Linked DNA regions of Homo sapiens: region 2 is linked to region 1. The links are contacts of gene promoters, found by promoter capture Hi-C in human tissues and cell types (Jung and others, 2019). All regions are on one chromosome and are shown on one strand. Each heading gives the region's core, a stretch centred on a gene start or on the middle of the fragment in contact. The rest is flanking DNA. Distances are from core to core; before and after follow the strand shown.

The links. The method cuts DNA at HindIII sites, captures the fragments that hold promoters and counts their contacts. A contact is called where the count stands out against the background at its distance.
Region 2: a contact is called between a fragment that was not itself captured here and the fragment with the promoter of NEU2 in region 1, in 1 of the 25 tissues and cell types used here (spleen).

What each region holds. Positions count from the first base shown.
Region 1 is chr2:233,030,323-233,034,993 of GRCh38, reverse strand. NEU2 (neuraminidase 2) reads right to left here and starts at 2,322. Exons shown (of 2, transcript NM_005383.2): 1 at 2,122-2,322; 2 at 1-878. The coding sequence starts at 2,322. The HindIII fragment of the contact is 19,695 bases long and covers 1-4,671 here.
Region 2 is chr2:232,871,379-232,876,049 of GRCh38, reverse strand. It overlaps SNORC (secondary ossification center associated regulator of chondrocyte maturation), which reads right to left. Exons shown (of 3, transcript NM_001394206.1): 2 at 1-110. Among named protein-coding and RNA genes, the nearest start is that of SNORC, 3.4 kb to the right of the region's middle. RefSeq lists an enhancer at 3,091-3,856. The HindIII fragment of the contact is 7,170 bases long and covers 1-4,671 here.

The sequences.
Region 1 (4,671 bases), core at 1,073-3,572:
TCGTAATCATTGGCTTCGTACAGACACCCAAACAAGGGGGACCCATCAGGGCCGGTGCCCATGCTCTGGAGGTCTGAGTAGGCACAGCTGCCCTTGGCCAGCAGTACCGGCTCTGACCAGGCCTCAGGGGCTGGAGGTCGCGGGTTGAGGTAGGCACCCAGGTCGGCCCTCTGCCAGGAGTGTGTGGGGTGAGTGTAGAGCAGCCACTGGGCTGGGGAGCCAGGCCCCGAGCGGGGGCTGGGGAAGCTGATGACGCTCCCCTGGCAGCCCTGGGGCGGCGGCTCCACCAGCTTCTTCACCAGCTGAGACTCCTGGAAATCAAGCCCGTCATTGGTGCTCTGGGCCTGGACCCTGGCTCGGAGGTGGCTTCTCGCGTTGAGGGTCACCACCCTCTGCTCCCCAGTCTCGACTTCGGCCACCTGGCACTCCAGGGTGTCCTGGGCCACAAAGTGCCCTCGCGCCCACGTGCGCCCATGGTCATGGCTGAGGAAGCAGAAGGCAGAGGGGATCGGCCTTTGGATGGGGTGAAGTTTCCGGTAGGCGTAGGCGGGCACCACCAGGCTCCGGGCCCTGTCGTGAAGCTGCAAACAATGCCCCGGGCCCACTGCAAAGGTGGACCACTCCCGGTAGGCTGGGCCGATGGCCGCATCAGTGAGGTCTCTGGGGGAGCTCCAGGTCCTCCCGTGGTCAGTGCTGGTGACTTGGCACAGCCGCGTCACATTGGCCCTGGTCTGCAGCTGCTGTTGCTCCGTGACTTGCCCAGGGATGGCAATGAAGAAGAGGAAGAGGGTCCCCGTCTGCGCGTCATACAAGGGGCATGGGTTCATGGACCGGTGGCCATCCAGCCGGGCCTGGGCCACCACCTCCTGAGCTTGCCACTGAGTAGGGAGAGAGAAAGAAGAAGGCAGCCTTGAAACAGCTGGGGATGGTGCCAGGAGCTGCATGAGTGGGAGGGGTGGGCACGGGTGTGTCTCCCGGGTTAGAGTCAAAAGTCATCGAGAAGAACTCTTCACCCAACACTCATATCCTCCTTGCAACGTTTCCCCAGAGCTGCGGGGCCCAGGGTGCCACCTCACCCCTCCAAGGCAGCCACACTCGGCTGAGTGATTCTGTTCCTTCCATTGCCATCAATATGCATTTACAGAACACCCACCTGCCAGACCACAAGATATGAAGATGACTCGTGCATGAGCCATTCCCAACTTCATCCTGGTTCCTCCACTTCCCACCCCAGTCCAGCTCACCATCCTTGAATAGCAAAGCCCTGGCGGAAGGTGCAATAACCTGACCAGTACAAGACAGAATGTGACGGTCACCTCTCACCTTCTACACTCCATATCCTACTCATGTAGCCAAGGAGGAGTCACATTGAGCTTCCAGAATCCCCAAGTCTATGTCACATGTGCTGTCTGTCCCCATTTATTAACAGCTACCCCCATTGGGCAATTCTAAGCACAGACACAGCACCAAAAGTCTAACATCCATGGTCTCATCTAATGCCTCAATCCCCAGGGAACAGGTGTTAGTAGCTCCATTATTACAGTGAGCAAGAGACCGCGACAGGGAGGAGGAGTTGCCTAGGCCACATCTGTGGTCAGTGGCGGAACCAGGACTTGAACCCAGGTCCATCTGCTTCAAATCCCATGCTTTGAACAGCTGTGTAGTAATGACCACAAAGGAATGATAATAATATTAAACTCTTCAAATATGATCAGCCAGCCTTGGGTGCTGTCATCAGGATTAATTATTTAATCTATAAAATGGGACTTTAGGACACAAGCCATCACCCCACCCCAAGTCCCCAAGTTAATTTTACTCAAAGGACACAACCCTCCATTATGCAACACTGAACTATTCCTCCGTGAGGTCATCACGGATGCTGGGCAACTCATTCAATCTTTCATGAAAACAGATGGAGGCCAGCTGGACTAATTCACAGTGAACCCAGAGGTCCAGGGAACCATTAGGGGCACTTTCTCTGCTCTATCTCTCCTCCGGAGTACAGCCATTGAGGGATAAAGTTGTCCCTGTATTTCTTGAGATCCAGGACTGGCCCCTGATCACAGCAGCAAAGGGTGTGGCAGAGCCCTGGGGAGCCAGTGCAGACACCTCCTGCCTCACCTGAACCTGGTGGGTGGGTGCGTCGTAGTCTCCTCTGCGCAGGACAATCAGCTCTGCGTGCTCATCCTTCTTGCTTGCCCGCTGTTCCGCGAAGGCCAGCAGGGACTGCTGCCCAGGCAGGTAGAGCAGGGCAGGGATTCTGTAGGCATGGGCTCCCGACTGGAACACGCTCTCCTTCTGCAGGACAGGAAGGGACGCCATGGGGCTGGGGGGTGGACAGGAAGAGAAGATGTGTCACCTGCAGCCACACCTGAGATGGGCTCAGAGTCATTCACCAAGACAGGTGGTGCTCACCCCCTGGCTGAGTGGACCAAAGTCAGGGCGGCCTGTCCTCTTCCCGCGTGGGGTTCATTCTCCTTTCCTACATCTCAAGACCCTGCTTCTTAATTCTGCCTTTGCCTCGGTGGATATCGGGAGGGGGTATTGCAAAAGCGTGTTTTGGATTCGATTTTTATTCTAAGTTAACAATGCTCCTTACAACAGATTTTCGATAACCTCCAGCTGCTTTTGCCAAACCCAGCCCATCAATCCAGGGGCAAACCTCGGGAGGACAGCAGTGCAGGCCGGGTGGCATTCGGCAGCTGCCCAAATGCCAGAAAGTGACACATGGGAGCTTTTTATAACTCCAGAGCCCTAGAAAGTTGTTTCAAAGAAAAGGAAAAAGAAAAAGCATGGCTTCTAAGGCTCTGCTCCCCAGGCTGCCTGAGGCTGAGGCCCGTCTGCCCCCGCTGCTGCGTGGGCTCCCCCTGAGGCAGCGAGGGGGCGGCGCTGCAGTGGGAAAGGAAGAGACAGGGGCTCCTGACAGCTAACCCAGGCTGGGGGCGTGGGGTGCTCCAGAGGTCTAAGAAAATAACAATTAAAAATAAGTCTTCAGCTAAAAAGGGTAGGGAGGGGACAGAGGTAACTTGGGGACAGTGGGTGACAGTGATTTTCGGGCTAAGCTGCCTAGGTCCCTTTAGGAGGATGCATCCCGCAGCTCTGGGGAGTGTTGGCTGCAGGGCCCTGGCCTGGGGAGGATGGGCCAGTTGTTCCCAGATGAAGAATCTGCCCCAGGTCATACCCAAGAAGGGCTGCTTGATGATTGGTCCACTCAGAGCCTGAAGACCCTCTTCCTGAACTCCTGACCAGGAACAGTGCGGCTCCGGAGCTCCCTCCGGGCGGCTGGGCCTTCCCTGAGACTGCATTACAGCCGCCTCTTTCTCTGCTGCTCCTCCCTTTCCCCCAGAGGCTCTTGCCTGCCGTGGGTCTCCGTGTCAGAGCCGGCGTCCTGGGCACCCCGTCTGAGACACAGCCTTTGCAGAGGGCAAGTGGGCAAGAGGCCAGCAAGAGGGGCAAGGTTTGCCTTTGTGCACCCTTTTGTACTGCTCTCATTTTTCTACCACATGCATGCGTTATCTATTTAAAACTTAGCTTCTTTGAGAAATAAATGTAATCTATCAGTCTTTCATTCAACCACAGTGAACGTTAATATTAGGACGATGTGAGAAAATAAAACTGAGAAGGGCAAAAGCTGCACAAGGAAAAAATGTGCTATTCCCTGAACTTCGGTGGGAGATTCATGGCTTGGTGATAGAATCACCAAATTATAATCCAAGGACACAGGCCTTGATAGGTATCGGGAGGCCTATGCTGAAACGCTGTTAGAAAATGTCAGCAGGAAAGAATCAAATATGATAACAAGTAAAAATGAAAATGGAGAACTGTGCAGTTTCACAGTGTTCTCTGGAAAATTGATCAAGGATTTATTTAAGCTCCATAGAGTGGGCTCTGGAAAGTGTCCTTGATGGAAATTCAGCAGAGTTGGTATAATTCAGTTTAAAATGTTTGTATTTAAAATGTCCTCAGGGCCAAAATTTCTGTATGGATTACAATGGCTGGCCTTCTCTACACAATGTGGGAGGAAAGGAGAGAAGAAGTTTAGCTGAGGAAATCTTTTTTTTTTTTTCTTTTTTTTTAGATGGAGTTTCGCTCTTGTTGCCCAGGCTGGAGTGCAATGGCGAGATCTCGGCTCACTGCAACCTCCGCCTCCCAGGTTCAAGTGCTTCTCCTGCCTCAAGCTCCCGATTACAGGCATGCACCACCATGCCCAGCTACTTTTGTATTTTTAGTAGAGACGGGGTTTTTCCATGTTAGTCAGGCAGGTCTCGAACTCCTGACCTCAGGTGATCCTCCCGCCTCAGCCTCCCAAAGTGCTGGGATTACAGGCATGAGCCACCACGCCCGGCCAGCTGAGGACATCTATAAAGACATTCTAGAGGGAAAACAAGACAGAGACGTCTTCGGGAGGAATCACAAGGCAAGACACACACCAGGCCTTTGGGGTTGAGTAGGGGTCCAGCCTAAGGCCTAGGAAACCGGGCTGATGGGCTCCATGAGGTGAGTGTGACCAGAACTGGTGGCTCATGCCTTAGAGAGAAGATGGGGCAAGGGAGAGAACAGAGGCTTCAGGCTAGAACTAGGGAGCAAAGCCACTGGCTGGCCCACCCTCAAGAAGAGAACCACTCTCAATGCTTACAATTGAGATATGTGACCAGGCACAGTGGCTCACGC
Region 2 (4,671 bases), core at 808-3,307, 160 kb after region 1:
GGTGTCCACGGGCTCCCGGCCGGGGCTGGTGCTCTCCACGGGGCCTTCTCCCGACGGCAGCTCGGCCGGCTCGTTCCACAGCGTGGGCACGGGCTCCTGTGGAACATCGTCTGCAAAGCCAAGGAGAGGTGCTGGGGCCCCAGGTGACGGGGCCGACAGGGACGTCACCCCCCACCTCTAGGTTAAGCAAGTTGCCGGTAGCGCTGTGTGAGGGGTCTGGGCTCAGCGCTGCACTAGCCCTCACATTTCCCAGGCTAAGAAGCTGAAGCCAGTGCGTTGCTGCCTCCCATTGGGCAGGGCCGGTGGGTGGGCAGGAGGAGTGTCTGTTCAGTGTAAGGGAGGTGCCCCCCACAAAGCCCTTCTCTGCTTATAGGGTTGGGAGTTGGCAGGATTTGGGGTACCCAGGGACCAGAGAGCAGAAAGGAGACATTCTCAGTCCCACAGAAAGCACAGGCTGAGACGCCTGCATGATAACCCCCGCCCTGTATCCTCACCAGCCAGCCCACCCCAGTTGTCCTCCCCTGACCACCACTCCAACCCTGGGCCATCCATCCCCGGCAACCAGACAGGATGCCCCAGAAACGCTGGAAAGCTCAACATGGGGATGGTAGGTCGGCTCTTGGCCTCTCCAGCCCAGCCAGACCATCTGACATCACAGTGTTAGCAGGGCAGGCCTGCCCATGTCCTAATCTCTCTCTCTCTCTTTTTGAAACAGAGTCTTGCTCTGTGCCCAGGCTGGAGTGAAGTGGTACAATCTCGGCTCACTGCAGCCTCCGCCTCCCGGGTTCAAGCAAGCGATTCTCCTGCCTCAGCCTGCGGAGTAGCTGGGACTACAGGCACCTGCCACTACACCCAGCTAATTTTTGTATTTTTAGTTGAGACGGGGTTTGCCATGTTGGCCAGGCTGATTTTGAACTCCTGACCTCAGGTGATACACCCGTGTCGGCCTCCCAAAGTGCTGCGATTACAGGTGTGAGCCACTGCGGCCGGCCCCATGCTCTAATCTCAACTGGGATAGAGACTGTGATCCAGGGACACTCGACCCTCAAGCCGGTTCCCTGGATGAGCTTGGGGATGTCCCAACACCTCATCTCTTTGACTCCAGCTACTCTGTGGTGTGGGAACTGCTTTTATCCCCATTTCAGAGACAAGAAAGCCAAGGCTTGGGGATAAGGTGCCGTGGTGGTGAGCACAGGTGGGCTGAAGGCCTTGGACAGTTGCAGGAGCGGTTGTGCTGCCCAGAAACAGTGCAGGGAGGCTGCCGTTCTGTGAACAGACCCTGCCGGCCAGCCGGCGACCCTAGGGCACCTTTTGTCCCTGCGGGTTCCATCCCTGAGCGCTGGGGCAAGAGTCAAGCCAGACACTTGCCCTCCTCATAGGTTCACCAGCACCCAGAGAGGCGGATGCTCGAGAAGACACAGAGGTCCTTCCAGGGTTTTCTGGCCAGTTGTGTCCATCTAGGGCAAACCACGCAGAAACATCAGCCAACCCAGACTCAGGGTCAGTCTTAAAGTAAATGGGCCTTCCCAAATGTCAAAGTTAGGAAAAACAAAGAAAGGCCGAAAGGTTCCAGATCAGAGACTAAGGAGACAGCTCAATGTTCCTGGACGGGGAGGGACAGGCCTGTGATCGGAGACTCAGGTCCGTTGGTGAAGTTTGAACAGGGTGTGGCTTAGGACTGCCTCAGTGCTCACTTCCTGGTTTTGATAGCTGACTCTGGTGTGTTAAGAGAATGTCCTTGTTCTTAGGAAGAATTTAGGGGCAAAGGAACATGACTTCTGCAACTTACTCTCAAATGATTTCAGCATTCAGATAGAGGATTCAGCAATGTAGCAAAATGTTGGCAGTTGGCAAGACTAGGTGGATGGACTCCTGGAGTTCATTGGAGTATTTGTGCAACTTTTCTGTAAACTTCACATCTTTCCACAATAAAATGTTAGCAGGTCCCTGGCTTCTGGGCCTCTCTCAAGCCTGGAGAGGTCAGTTGCAAGGCTCAGCTCTGAGACAGCTTGCTGACCTTTCACCTGACCTGCCACATTCCCCAGGGCTGGCCCAAGGCAGAACCCCTTTCCAGAAAAGACCTCTGGCAGGAGGCCCCATGGGTGGAAGGCCCATTGGCCCCCAACTGGGGGAGGCTTCCCTCCCGAGGGGCCCAAGGCTGCACTGTAGCACTGATGTCTCTCTAGCCTCCCGCAAACCTTGAAGACCACCCTGAGAGGAGGGGAAGTGACCCAGCCAGGCCTCCCATGTCGCAGCCAGAAAGGCAGGGGTCTGCAGCCTTGCAGTCCCCATGGAAGGCCCCAGGCCCCTGGCGTGCTGCCTCAGGCTTCTGGGGGCTGGGCAGGTAAAAGGCCTGAGTGCGCCCACCGCCTGGCAGGCACCAGGGTCTAGGCTCACTGACTGCCTGAACATGTCCAAAGAAATGGACAAATGACACACCCAAGACAGACTGGCAGGTAGGCACCTCCCTGCATCTGGAGGCCGCGGCAGGGCTTCTGGGTACCAGGCCCAGCTGAGCCGGGTGGCATCTGCGGGAATCAGCCGAGGAGTGGCAGGCCTCCAGCCCCTGAGAAGGCAGGGCTCAGTACCCAGGCCAGCCCAGCAGGGGTGAGCTGCCACCCTTGACGGTACCCTCTGAGCAGGGCAGTGGGGAGCCCCACTCAGGCCCTGTCCCCATCTGTCCCCCGTGACCCAGCCTGTCTCTGCTGCGCCCACCACCAGACATACCTGCCCTGGCCTCCTCCCACTGTACACAGCCCCCTCCTGTCCAGCCAGGCCATGAAGCTTTCTAATCAGGAGGGCTGGGGCCTATCCTTGCTCCATGCCCCAATCCACCTTCCTGACCTGTAAGACGGGGGTTCAGACTATGCTGTCAAGCATCTTGCACAAGGAGGTAACTGTGTGAACACCAGCATCTTCAGCTGCTGCGTCTGGCCTGGGGTGCGCCTTTGGACACAAGCCCAGTTGCTATGGGTCTGCAGCCGCTGGCTGCCACAGGAATCCCTCACAGGCTGGCCCAGTACCCATCTGCACCCAAGCGGCCAGGGCCCCAGGAGCCACCAGCTCCCTGCCAACCTAGGCTGGTGCCCAAGTGGCAGACACATAGGCTCGGAATGACAGCCTGCACTCAGCCACCGATCCACCAGGAAAAGGGGTGCCGCTGCCAGGGAGGGGCCGAGGCACTTCTTATCCTCATCTATGTTTCTAGAATTTACTCCAGTAAGAAGGGAAAGCAAAGCTGAGAGGCAATTCCCATCTTCCCCCAAATCCATCCTTCTGGGAAGCTGGGAGCAGAGCAGTTTCCCAGCAGGAGTCCTGTCTGGGGAGGGGGGAGATGGGGCAGGAGCGAAGGTGTGGAGGACGGAACTCACGGCGTGCCAGGCGGACAGTGAATAGGCCAGGGTGACAGAAAGTGAGGTTGGCAAAGAGGTGGGGGCACGGAGGACCCCAAGAAAGTTCCATGGCGGTAATGAGGCCCAGACTCCACTGACCAGAATTAGCCATGTGGTGTGGCTACGCGCTCTGACCCAGGGAAGCAGGGGCTGGTGGCACTGCCACAAGCCTGGGCACCACGGGCTCTCTCCCAGCCCCACTGGCCCCAGCCGCCCTGCCTTTTGGTAAATAAGTGTGTTCTGACCACAGGGCCCTGAGGCCAGGCGCCTCTGCTCACAGACAGCCTTTGTGTGGGCCATGAAGGGCCTTTTCATCCCTGCCCTGGCCTCCTGCCCGCTCAGCCCGGCCTGCTCCCACCTCAGTAGCTGAGGCCACAGGCCCCCAACAGGGAGGGCCTGTGCCTCAGATGGGGCCTGGGCCTCAGCCCACAAGGCCGCTCCTTCCCTTCCTGTCTGCTACAGGACCCCAGCCCACAGAGCCCAGGGCCGTGTACACACCTGTCCAGAGCTCCCAGCCCAGGGGTGGGGTCAAACGCTCTCGCAAGAACAACAGCCAGAACCCCAGAGACTCCGGGGTTGGGAAGGCCTGGTCTGGCCCCTGCGGGGGGCCTGCCTACTCTTGGTAGGACACATGGAGGGAAGTGGGGCAGTGAGGCCAGGTGAGGTCCTGGCTGTCCCCAAGGCATCCTGTGGTGGCAGAGGAAGCCCACCCGCCTACAATGATTAGGGACAGTCTGGCCTGGGAACTCTGGCCGGCAGCCTGGGCCAGGAGGGTCAGCCACACAGGAGTAGGAACCTGGGCAGGAGCCACAGGCAGCCCAGGCCCAGCAGGCAGGAGCCAGGGCCTCCCCTTCGGCCCACACGGACCACCAGGCTGGAGAAGCAGCTTCTTCCCAGTGAGGGGGCTGCAAAGATCACAGCCCCAGGATCCAAGCCATGGAAGATGCCACCTTCCCCTTTAAGTCCCTTCCCCCCATCCTGGGAACACCGCATGGCTCGCCTAGGCTGGCGCCTCTTCCACCACAAGGGAGGCTGGCGCCCTCCCAGCTTGCGGGAGGAAGTAGAGTTCTGTTGAGACCACCCTGTGCCAGGGAGGGGCTCGGACCACAGAATCCACATTCGCGCTAACTGGATGTGGGGCCCATCCCAAAAGCTCCGCACGTCTGAACTCACGAGGCCTCACAGACCCCTGCAAGTGAGGCAGAGCGTGGCTGTGTCACCATCCTACAGATGACGAGAAGGCACAGAGAGGTTAAGAAACCGCCCGGTCAAGACTGAG